Linked DNA regions of Homo sapiens: region 2 is linked to region 1. Evidence: promoter capture Hi-C in human tissues and cell types (Jung and others, 2019). All regions are on one chromosome and are shown on one strand. Each heading gives the region's core, a stretch centred on a gene start or on the middle of the fragment in contact. The rest is flanking DNA. Distances are from core to core; before and after follow the strand shown. Region 1 holds the start of OSBPL1A (oxysterol binding protein like 1A). Region 2 overlaps IMPACT (impact RWD domain protein).

The links. The method cuts DNA at HindIII sites, captures the fragments that hold promoters and counts their contacts. A contact is called where the count stands out against the background at its distance.
Region 2: a contact is called between a fragment that was not itself captured here and the fragment with the promoter of OSBPL1A in region 1, in 1 of the 25 tissues and cell types used here (spleen).

What each region holds. Positions count from the first base shown.
Region 1 is chr18:24,396,574-24,402,448 of GRCh38, forward strand. OSBPL1A (oxysterol binding protein like 1A) reads right to left here and starts at 1,251. Exons shown (of 28, transcript NM_080597.4): 1 at 1,082-1,251. It overlaps LOC124904268 (a long non-coding RNA gene), which reads left to right. Exons shown (of 3, transcript XR_007066314.1): 3 at 4,527-5,875. RefSeq lists a silencer at 1,185-1,314. The HindIII fragment of the contact is 24,691 bases long and covers 1-5,875 here.
Region 2 is chr18:24,447,756-24,453,165 of GRCh38, forward strand. It overlaps IMPACT (impact RWD domain protein), which reads left to right. Exons shown (of 11, transcript NM_018439.4): 9 at 338-428; 10 at 2,064-2,198; 11 at 3,024-5,410. The coding sequence ends at 3,092. Among named protein-coding and RNA genes, the nearest start is that of HRH4, 10 kb to the right of the region's middle. The HindIII fragment of the contact is 7,986 bases long and covers 1-5,301 here.

The DNA of each region.
Region 1 (5,875 bases), core at 1-2,500:
CCCCCTATAAACTGTAGACAAAGCCCACCTAGTGGTTTAGAATTAGGGAATTAAAAGGTGGATTTTGTTACTATGCTGTAATTAAGAAATCTTCACAATTCCAGCTTGGGGTGGGGAGGGAGGGGGGTGGTTCAGAATTTATACCTATCAAACTGCTGCAAAAAATTCATTGTATCGGGGTTAGACTGCAAATACTTCTACCCCTCAAAACGAATCTGCAAATTATTTCCCAGATGCTGAGTAAAGAGGTGAGGAGGTTCCAAACTCCAAATCCAGAATGCACCTATTACAGGGCAAAGACTGAAGTTTTCAGGGAAAACACATCACCGATTTTAAAGCTGATTTAATTATATTATTAACTATTCACAGACACCTAATAGCCACATTTGCAACATTCAAGCAACCTTATTTAAGCTAAGAATATCACACTGCCCACAGTTCCATTTCACAATACCGTCTGCCTAAAAACGACAACTTGAACTGAAAACTAATACTAAATCAGAATAACCCTTTTCAATGCCTCCTGCCAATCATTAGGGCAGCGGGATAAGTGAATTGTTAAAGTCTATTGTGCAGCTGCGCTCTCATTCAGTTTCAGAATCTCCCTTGGATATTCGTTCATGCTTGTAGAACCGACCACGCGGTACATTGGGAAACGGTCACATGAACAATGCGTGACTTCCATTGTGCATCAATCCTCCTCTTGTTAGGAGGAAATTAAAAAGTCACATGGACACACGAAAGTACCGAGAAGGCACGCAGCTGAAGATCTGGTAGGGGATGCATGCGGCACCAGCATGGTCGTGGCACCCGAGTGGGAAGTGCAACAAACGCCAACATCTTGTTACTTTTAACGCCTAACTTCCTGCAGCGCTGGAGCAGCCAGCGGCCGCCGGGAAGCCGAGCTCGGCTGCAGCCCTGCGTCGCCGCGCCACGACCCGACCATCCTCTGAGACGCCCGGGACGGGAGCGCCCACCCCCAACCAGGCGCGGACAGACCTCCCGAGCGCAGCCCGGCGGGAACCCGTCAGCGCGGGAACCGGCCTCGAACTCCAGGCGTGGACAGCCGCGAGAAACTGACCTACGCGGTCACCCGGGCTCCCAGAGCTCCCGAGGCGGTGGCCACGACCCCAGGCTTCCCGTCCGCCCGCCCCACGTCGAGGAAGTGGTCGTCACCAACTCTGGCTGGCACTCCCCGAGGACGCTCGAGCCCGCGTAACGTCTGTCTCCGGGACCCGGCGCCGGGACCACGGCGGAGCGCGAGGTGGCGCCGCCCCTCCCCGCAGCCCGCCCCTGGAACGCGCATCCTCCTGGCGAGCTGGCATCCCTCCCGACACGTGACCGCAGCGGGGACACGCCCGTTCCCCGCCCACTCCCCGCCCCTGCCTGGCCTGCCCACGCCCCCGGCCCGCTCCTGTCCCGCCTGGGCCACCGGCGCTGGTTCCAGGTTTTGCCAGCTACTAGGGACGCGTAAAGCCTTCGCGCTCCTCCCACCACACCCCGAGGGAAGAAGTGGCAGGCCTTACCCGGAGACTACAAGGAACCGCCCGTGTGAGCCAGTGGAAGACTCGCGTCCCCAGGCAAAATATAAGTCCTGGGTTAATAGTCTGAAGTCTGTCATTAAGCAATAGGTTATCCAGCTGCCCAGATTTTTTTCTTTTTTGCTTTGGCTGCAACTCGACCCGTGGGAACTTAATTGGCAATGTAAATTAGACAATTTACAAAAAAACACCTCCTTTTACTTTCACCTGTGAAAGGAAGCGCTTAAAATGCCATACAGGTGTAACCATTATAGAATAGATATGCGTGAGACAAGGATTTACAAAATTTCCTCACCTCCTCTCCTCCAGATTCCATGCACAAGGCGTCTAGCTAGAGGAGTTAGCAAATAGTCTATAACGTGAAGGTTCAAACTCTAGTATAATTCCACCGTTTTTGTTTTTTTCTTTTTTTGAGGCAAGGTCTCACTCTGTCTCCCAAGCTGGAGTGTAGTGGCGCGATCTCGGCTCACTGCAGCATCGTCTTCTGGGTTCAAGCGATCCTCCGGCCTCAGCTGGACTACAGGCGGGTAATCAAGGGACTGGGACTACAGGCGCGCCCTGCCGCGCCCGGACAAGTTTTGTATTTTTAGTAGAGACAGACTCTCCCTATGTTGCCCAGGCTGGTCTCCAACTCCTGGGCCTCCCAAAGTGTTGGGATTACAGGCGTGAGTCACCCCTGCAGGCCACAGCTTTGCTTTTTAAAAGCATTTCTGCATAACTAAAAAGACAGGAAATTACGAGCATACGAAAACTGATTTCTGCTTTCCTGAATTTTCTAAATGTATTTAATGAACATGTTCTTTTGCAATGAAAAAGTAATAAATAGGTATCATTTTTAAAAGGACTGTAGTTTTTCCATCAAGTCTAGAAGCATGTATTGAGAACCTATAATAGGCCCTTTTGGTCATTGTGATATGTGTGAAACAGCATATGGCAGATCTTTTGAAATGATGTTTTTGGATACCACAAGCAATCCTGCTGGTGTATCTCAGGCTGGCATCATCTTTTATTAACAAAGCAGGCACTTTACTAGCACAATACTTCAACTGCAAAATGTGTGGTAACTAAAGCAGCTGTATTTGTCTGGAAAAGAAGAAACCTCAGGGCTTACTATCTAAGGATATTGAACCATCTTTTTTTTTTTTTTTGAGATGGAGTTTTACTCTTGTGCAGTGGTGCAATCTCAGCTCACTGCAACCTCTGCCTCCGAGGTTCAAGCGATTCTCCTGCCTCAGCCTCCTAAGTAGCTGGGACTATAGGTGCGTGCCACCATACCCGGCTAACTTTTGTATTTTTAGTAGAGATAGGGTTTCACTATGTTTGTCAGTCTGATCTCAAACTCCTGATCTCAGGTGATCCACCCACTTCAGCCTCCCAAGGTGCTGGGATTATAGGTGTGAGCCACCACACCCAGCCTTGAACCATCTTCATAGCCAAAATAAAACTACCGAAATAATGACAATAATAATTGGCTACTGAAATAATTTTCCATGATTCCATGAAAGCCTTCATTCTCTCTGTGATGATTTAATTACCTAAATTCACAACTTGCACTTTGCAACTCCCTTCTACAGTTTGCAAATGAAAAACAGATTGCAGTCAATAGGAGGATGAAGTAGTAATCACTACAGTTATCAATAAGAGAAGTTCCAATCTTGATAGCATTACTATTTATACTGTATCTTTAAAGGACTTTATTTGGTATTTCCATAAAATATGCAGAAAAGATATCTCATGGGCATTTATATTATTGACGGCTAGTACAGGTAAAATCACCATGATGGCATAACAGAATTCATTATTCTAGAACACTGTGTCTAATGGAACTTTCTGCGATGATAGAAATGTTCTATAATTCTACCTTGTCCAGTACAGTAGCCACTAGCCACATGTGGCTATTGAGTACTTGAAATGTGGCCAGTGTGACTGACGGTTTCAAGTTTTATTTAATTTAAATAGCCACATGTGGATAGCAGTTACCATATTGGGCAGTGCAGTTCTAGAATAACAAAACTATCACTAGATTGTCCCCGTCATATCATACTCTATTTTAAGAAACATTTGGCAGAAGTAGAACCTCTGGAACTAGTTAATAAATATTTTCCTTCATATTCCTTTCTGAGCTTTAGGCAGATAGATATTTTAACTTTGCAGATGCGGCATATTAAAGTAACTAGTAATATAATCCCTACATATATAAGTAGGAATTGCAATGGAAGCTCTGACTGGTTGTGAAATGGATTTGGGAGTATCTAACCCCTGGCCCTGCCATTCCCGGGCCTGCCTGACCCACATTGAAAAGTGAACCGGGTAACTTAAGACTGGGATGGGCTTCATCAGAATTGTTCATTGCCTGGTTCAGACTGGATTCACCTTGGACTCTTTTGTTTCAGGAAACTTAGGAGCCCAAATCTCTCTACTGTCATCCCCCTCCCCGCATTCCAATGACCTCCTTCAGAATGTGATCCTCTTTAGATTGTAGTACCTAATGTCTGGTCCTTGCAGTTTTGTCTCAAGCCTGAGACATCCCAGAATGCACTTAGTGCATTGCATGTTTTAAAAACACTCCCCTGGTGCCAGTGTGACTTTGAAGTGGTGCAGGAACACGCTAAAGGCTTAAGTCTCATTAAAAGGAGGATTTTATGGACTGAGACTTTGGGGAGGGCTTTGGGTAATTACTGCCTGGAATACTGAAAAGTAGGTCAGATGTCATCAGGCGAATGCAGATAAACCATTGAGTTGAGGGAAATGAATCATTCCCTTATACCTACATATGAAAGACTTTGTAGTTACTATTAACTCCAGACCATCAAAGCTATGAGGTCATTGGGAGTTTTTCTCTCTTAAAAGTGGTCTAAATTTGTTATTTGTCATTTGTGCCATTTCACTCAGTTTATTTAATAACAGGAATGAATTGGTATAGTTTCAGATATTAAATTCTTTTGGTCTAGACTTAATTTTGTACCCATCTCTCTTTTCCTGCAGGTATGACACACAGATGTCTAAGCAACTGCCTTCCAGCAGTGATTGATTTTGCTGGTTCCCCACACAAAAAGTTTGGAAGAGACCCTTATGTCTTCTGTAGAGTTTCTTGGTTGTAAGCAGCAAGCACTGGTGCTGGCTAACTTAAGCAAATAAAGAATATATCACTCAGACATCAAAGAAACAGCTGGAAATCTGGCTTGGCAAAGGCCGGATTAGGGCACTCCTGGGGATGTGGGTAGTAGGAATAGTCTATAGTTTTTCCTCAGTGCCAACACTGGGAAAGAATATGTTCCAATTATTTTCATTTTCCTATCCTTTTGTCTTTCTTCAGAAGAAGCAAAGTTGAGAGATAGTCTTTCATAGCTTTTCCCATAAGGTATGTTCTCCTTGGGCAACATTTTCAACTCAACCTTTAGCCCTTAGCTTGCTTTTTCTTTTTTTTTTTCTTTATTTTTTTTATTTTTGAGACGAGGGTCTTGCTCTGTCACCCAGGCTAGAGTACAGTGGCATGATCATGGCTCACTGCAGCCTCAACCTCTCAGGCTCAAGCAGTTCTCCCACCTCAGCCTCCCAAGTAGCTGGGACTACTGGCGCGAGCCACCATGCCCAGCTAACTTTTGTTTATTTTTTATAGAGACAGGGTCACACTATGTTGCCCAGGGTGGTCTCAAACTCTGGTTTGAGCAATCTGCCCACCTTGGCCTCCCAAAGTGCTGGGATTACAGGCATGAACCACCTCACCTGGCCTTTCTTTATTCATCATGAATATACCCTGCTTAGCCTGGTCAACATGGAGAAACTCTGTCTCTACAAAACAAAAATTAGCCAGGCATGGTGGTGTGGCCTGTAGTCCCAGCTACTGAGGAGGCTGAGGTGGGAGGATCACTTGAACCTGGCAGGTGGAGGCTGCAGTGAACTGAGATCACATCACTGCACTTCAGCCTGGGAGACAGAGACCCTGCCTCAAAAAACAAACAAACAAACAAACAAAAAAGAATATATTCCGCTTTTCTATCCCTAATTGTCTGCTCAAGCAGTGTGCCTGACAGTCACATGACCCCTTCTAGGAAGCCTTGGAAAGTCTGCCCTGCCTATTGCCCCTTTTTGAGGACTTCATTATGCAACCTACAATTCTTGGCTCAGCTGAAGGAGCAAGAGCAGGGCCTCCTAAATGGCACCTTTCTATTAGGCTTACCAAAGGCCTGGTATATGTGCTTTGCCCAACAGGAAATCTCTATACTGAGTAGCATTGAACCATCTAGATTTCTCTCTTGGGTAGGTTTAACCGTGACGCATGCAAAGGACAGTCCTTAGTCAAGGTAGATGCAGAAAGGCTCACAGAGGGAAGT
Region 2 (5,410 bases), core at 59-2,558, 51 kb after region 1:
CTCAATAAATGTTTTTCAATGATTGCTCTTGTTACTTCAAGGTTAAATGAAGTAAGGGGAATGTCACATGGATAAATTCACCTTCCCATAATAGCAACATTTCTGATATAAAGGAGATGCCTTTGATTCCTAGCTTTCCCAAGTATATAAAAAGGCAAACATACTGGATAGTAAACCGTCAGTGAAAATATATCTAATATAATACATATTTCAGGAAGGATTTAAAAAAATGAATATGCTGATTTTGGAAGTAATCAAAATGATCACAAATGTTGAGGAATAAGTTTTATTATAATATTTTAGTTTCAAAGTGTAATACTCTTACATGTATTTGCAGAATATATTGTGAGGATAAACAGACCTTCTTACAGGATTGTGAGGATGATGGGGAAACAGCAGCTGGTGGGCGTCTTCTTCATCTCATGGAGGTAGGTGTAAGTTAAACTATCAATCCTGTTCTGTACAAGCCATAAAATTTCTCAACAAAACAGAGCTCCATTTAGTAATAGCTAAGTCAGTTGAACTATGTAACATAAGATATATTTGATTTAATTAGTAGTTGATGTTAAAATATTGATTGAATGAAAATTTTAACCAGTGGATGTGGGACAGAAAGCAAATAATTAATAAGAAGTGCTATGCTTTCAAGACATAGACAATAGAAGATTGTCTTCAACTTTGGGAAAACACTTTGTTTTTTTGACAATTTCCTTCTCTTTATTTTTTCTATTCTTTCTTTATGGAACTCCGGTTAGTTGGATATTGGAACTTCTGGATAGATCCAGAATTTTTTTTTTTTAAATTGAGTTGTCCATCTCATTGTCTTTATATTCTGAGACATTTTCTTGACTGTTGTCCAAAATTTCTGTTGAATTTGAAATTTTGTTTAGCAGCCATATATTTAATTTTTAAGAGTTCTTTCTTGTTTTCTGTTTTTCCTTTTTAAGAATATCCTGTTCTGTTTTATGGCTCCAATATCTTCTAAAATTTCTCTGATTATATTAATTAGAGTTTCTTTTTTAAGATGTTCTCACCCCTAAAAAAATTTTTCCTGGTCCATTTTTGTTTGTTTATCTTGTCCTTTCTCTTTCATGCTGCTGGATTTTCTTCATCTGTCTGGTGATCATTTATTGTTCATTAATTTTAGGATTGGATTATTTTTTTCCTAAGGTAGTTACCTGGTTTTTTCTGCTCTTGTATGTGAAGGTTTATTTTCTAACAAGGCCTTTCCCTTGAATAGTAACTGTGTTTGTGGGTCAGGCCTGTAAACTGGTGGGCTTCACATTAAGGGCAGCATTTGACAAATGTCAAACTGATGAAGACGGCCAGGTATGGTGGCTCACACCTGTAACCCTAGCACTTTGGGAAGCTGAGGCGGGGAGATCACTTGAGCCCAGGAGTTCGAAACCAGCCTGGGCAACATGGTGAAACCCTGTCTCTACTAAAAAAACACAAAAATTAGCTGGGCATGGTGGTGCATGCACCTGTAGGTCCCAGCTACTTGGGAGGCTGGGGTGGGAGGATCACTTGAGCCCAGGAGGCAGAGGTTGCAGTGAGCCAAGATTGTGCCACTGCACTGTAGCCTGGGTGACAGAGTGAGACTGATCTAGATCTCAACTGATGAAACCTTACTAATAGCACCAGGGATATTGATGCCTCGTGCAGCCCCTGTAGCTTTGTTCAGAAGCAGGGTTTTTTTTGTTGTTATTTGGCCTAGTGGTAAAATGCTGCCTAAACTTAGCTGTTCTGGTTGAAGTCACCAGGTGCTAGAATCCTACTTGCATGGTCTCCCCTTCACTCTGTCCAGTTGCCCCAAATCTGGGAGTTTGAGGACATTGTGAAACACAGTGATGGTTTTCCAGATTCCCTTCTGTTCTTCCATTTCACTCCCTGAATTGTTAGTAATCTCACTCAGTGCCTACTCACTCATATGGCTCTACCATTAAAGTCACTGGGAAATTTTATGTGCAATTTTATACATGGGTTATTTCATTCTCCTTTTTTAAAACTCATATTTATACATGTCTGTCTATGTATCTAATTATGCTTCCAAAAAATAACAGATTTTGAATGTGAAGAATGTCATGGTGGTAGTATCACGCTGGTATGGAGGGATTCTGCTAGGACCAGATCGCTTTAAACATATCAACAACTGTGCCAGAAACATACTAGTGGAAAAGAACTACACAAATTCACCTGTAAGTGGCTCTTCGTACTACATCTAGAGAATTTCTCATCACTGCCTGGGAATTTTTTAAAAAGACAGAAAATTAAGAATGAATCAGAATGTGAGTGGTGAATTGGTAAAACCTTTGGACTCAGAACCTGGAGACCTAGACTCTAAACAGTGTGTCTGGCCAGTCACGTGACTTTGGACCGATCACTTAATCCCTTCGCACCTTGATTTCATAGGACAGACCACTTCATCCCTTCGCACCTTGATTTCATAGGTTCATAGAATTTTATAATTAGAAAAACCTTTTAAGACCAACTAGGTTCCATCCCTAAAATTGAGCCCCAGAGTGGTTGTAGCTGATATCACATCAGACTAGATGTTCTTTAAACATCTAGAAAATTCTGAAATTCTCTGTTAGTGTCAAAACATCTCCCCCTTCACTGGCATACCTTTAGATGCTTTCTTCCTTTATACTTTGAGTTTATTTTGTTTTATATTTTAGGTATGTTCATATCTGCCTTATTTAAATTTTACTGCCTTGGGAAAGTGGGGCAATAGATGAAATAATTTTGAAATTATTCAAACATAAATCCACTAGATAAATAAGGTTTCCTTGATTATTCTTGATTGTTTAAAAAATATTAGCCTATAAGTGAAAGTACCCTTTAAAACACAGAAATGACACATATAAAAGTGATTATACCCTCACTGTAACATATATACATACATACATATATGTATGAATATATGTGGAATATATATGTGTAAATATATTCTAAGTGATTAGATTGAAGATTTCATCTTTATGTAAATGGAGAGATGCTGCACTGATTTGTGTCTTTTTCAGGAGGAGTCATCTAAGGCTTTGGGAAAGAACAAAAAAGTAAGAAAAGACAAGAAGAGGAATGAACATTAATACCTGAAACTATAGGAAAGGTTAATTTGCCTATAATTATATATACATTCCATAGTCATCAAGGAATATATTGTGCAGAGAGAGTATCCTTGACTGCTTAAGTCAGCCAGTTCAGCATGGATACCAACATTAGCTTTTCTTCTTGGTTATATCATCTGCCAAAAATAGAGAACTTATGATCTATTCATGTGTGTTTCAGGCTTATTTGGGAGAACTAATTTGAACTTAATCACCACTTCATCTAATTTTAGCAAGGTAACAGTTGCCCAGGGCAGTACCTGAATTAACTGTCCATTTCAGTACATGTCAAGTGCCTTTGTTAGGTGGAGAAGAAATGTCTCTAGAGGAATATAAATACCTGATTTCTTGTCATCGAGATTCTTGTACTGTTAAATGAATATTGCCTTTTACTGCTCTTTATGGCTTATTGGAATAGGAGCTCATTTAAGATTGATCTTGGAGAGTTTCTTCTTGTGATTTTAGTTCATAAGTATGTCACCTTTCATTTTATAGTGTTCATCATTGAGTAATGGATTAAGTGAAAATCCAGGAGTATCCATCTGCAGTTATGTGCTGAGGTGATAATTCATCCAACATATTTGTTAGCATAAATATTATGCTTCAGTTTCTGTTGCAAATTGGTGATTGTGAAATTACAGAAAGTGATTTTCTAGTCTGCTTTTTTTGTTTAATTCTTGTAATGTAAGCAATAAATATGGAGTGTCAGTAGTCTCCTTCCACCCCAGAAATGTGTTGGTGTAACATTCTCGTTTCTTTTAACAACCTGGAAGTACCTTTCTTGTGATCTTCACTGAGGAATTAGAACTATGATAGAAGTTAGGCTGTGGCAAATGGGACATTCGTAGAGTGGGATAGAGGTGGCAGAATGAACCTGGTGTAGGGCAGGAGTATGTTGTGTAGTTACATCAATTTGATGCATGCTTTCCATCTGCACTCCAGACGGCTTTCTCAGTTCCAAGATTTTGCAGAGAGAAGGAGCAAACCTTTTCATTGGAAAAACAGAAACAACCCTCCCCCCCATTTTTTCCCCTCTATTCATCAAACCTTTATGTATCTTTCATCTTCCAGTTACCTCTAGGCATTTAGATAGTGAAATTTACCTTTGAGATATAACAATAAGTGATTAACTGTTCACTTTCAGATGTAATGGCAAACAATTGTTAAAAGTTATTAACTGATCACAGATTTGCCTGGACTTCCCTTCCCAGGGAGGGAACAGAAGTTAGGAGGCAACTTTGGGATGGTGCTAGAGCATGGAAAGCACAGAGAATTGGACAAACAGGTCTTTTTCTCTTTTCTCTGATGTTTTACCTTTAAAAGATCCAACATCCTTACCGTTGGTATTTTTAGTAAGGTTATAGTAAATAGCTTTACACCAGGATGGATTCTGAAATATAAATTCTAAATTATATTTGTTATAACTATATTTTATGTTGTATGTTATCAGGAGCCATCAGAGAATGACCTTTTTGTGTTTGGAACACTTGGTTCCATGAAAAGTATGCTTTGTGTTTTAACTGTTAAAATAATTTAAAAATTAATTATTTTACATAATTAAAGAAGTTAAAAACTATTAACATTAAATAATTTCACAATTTCAACATGTCAAACCTATGAAGGGAGATAGGAAACAATGAGAAACTTACTTTTGCTCCTTTATACAGAATTATTAACTATATTTTACTAACTAAAAAACTCTAGTATTCTTTACCTAAAGTCAATTGGCTGGTAAGAGGGAGAGATGCAAAATTCTCCAGCTCTGAACTTGGAGCTACTTCACACTCTACTCTTAATGGAAACTTGAACTAATGATAGATAGTATTTTTTTCCTCTATTTAAAATTTTTGTCTTGATTAGGAGATTTTTCAGTTCTCCATATAATAATTTTCTACAATCAGATCTATGCTGTGGCATATTTTGCTTTATTTAAAAATTTTTTTTTAGAGATGAGTTCTTGCTCTGTCACCTAGGCTGGAGTGCAGTGGCATGATCATGGCTCACTGCAGCCTTGACCTTCCAGCCTGCCAAGTAGCTGGGATTACAGACAGGCATGTGCTATTACACCTGGCTAATTTTTAAAGTTTTTTTTGTAAAGATAGGGTCTTTCTATGTTGCCCAGGCTCGTCTTGAGCTCCTGGCCTCAATCGATCTTCCTGCCAAGGTTTTGGAATTACAGGTGTGAGCCACCATGCCTGGCCTGCTTTGACATATTTTATAGTGTGTTAATTACAAATAGTCTTCATATGCCAGAATATAAGAGCAAGTGTTATCTACTTTTTAGATGGGAATTGCAGAAG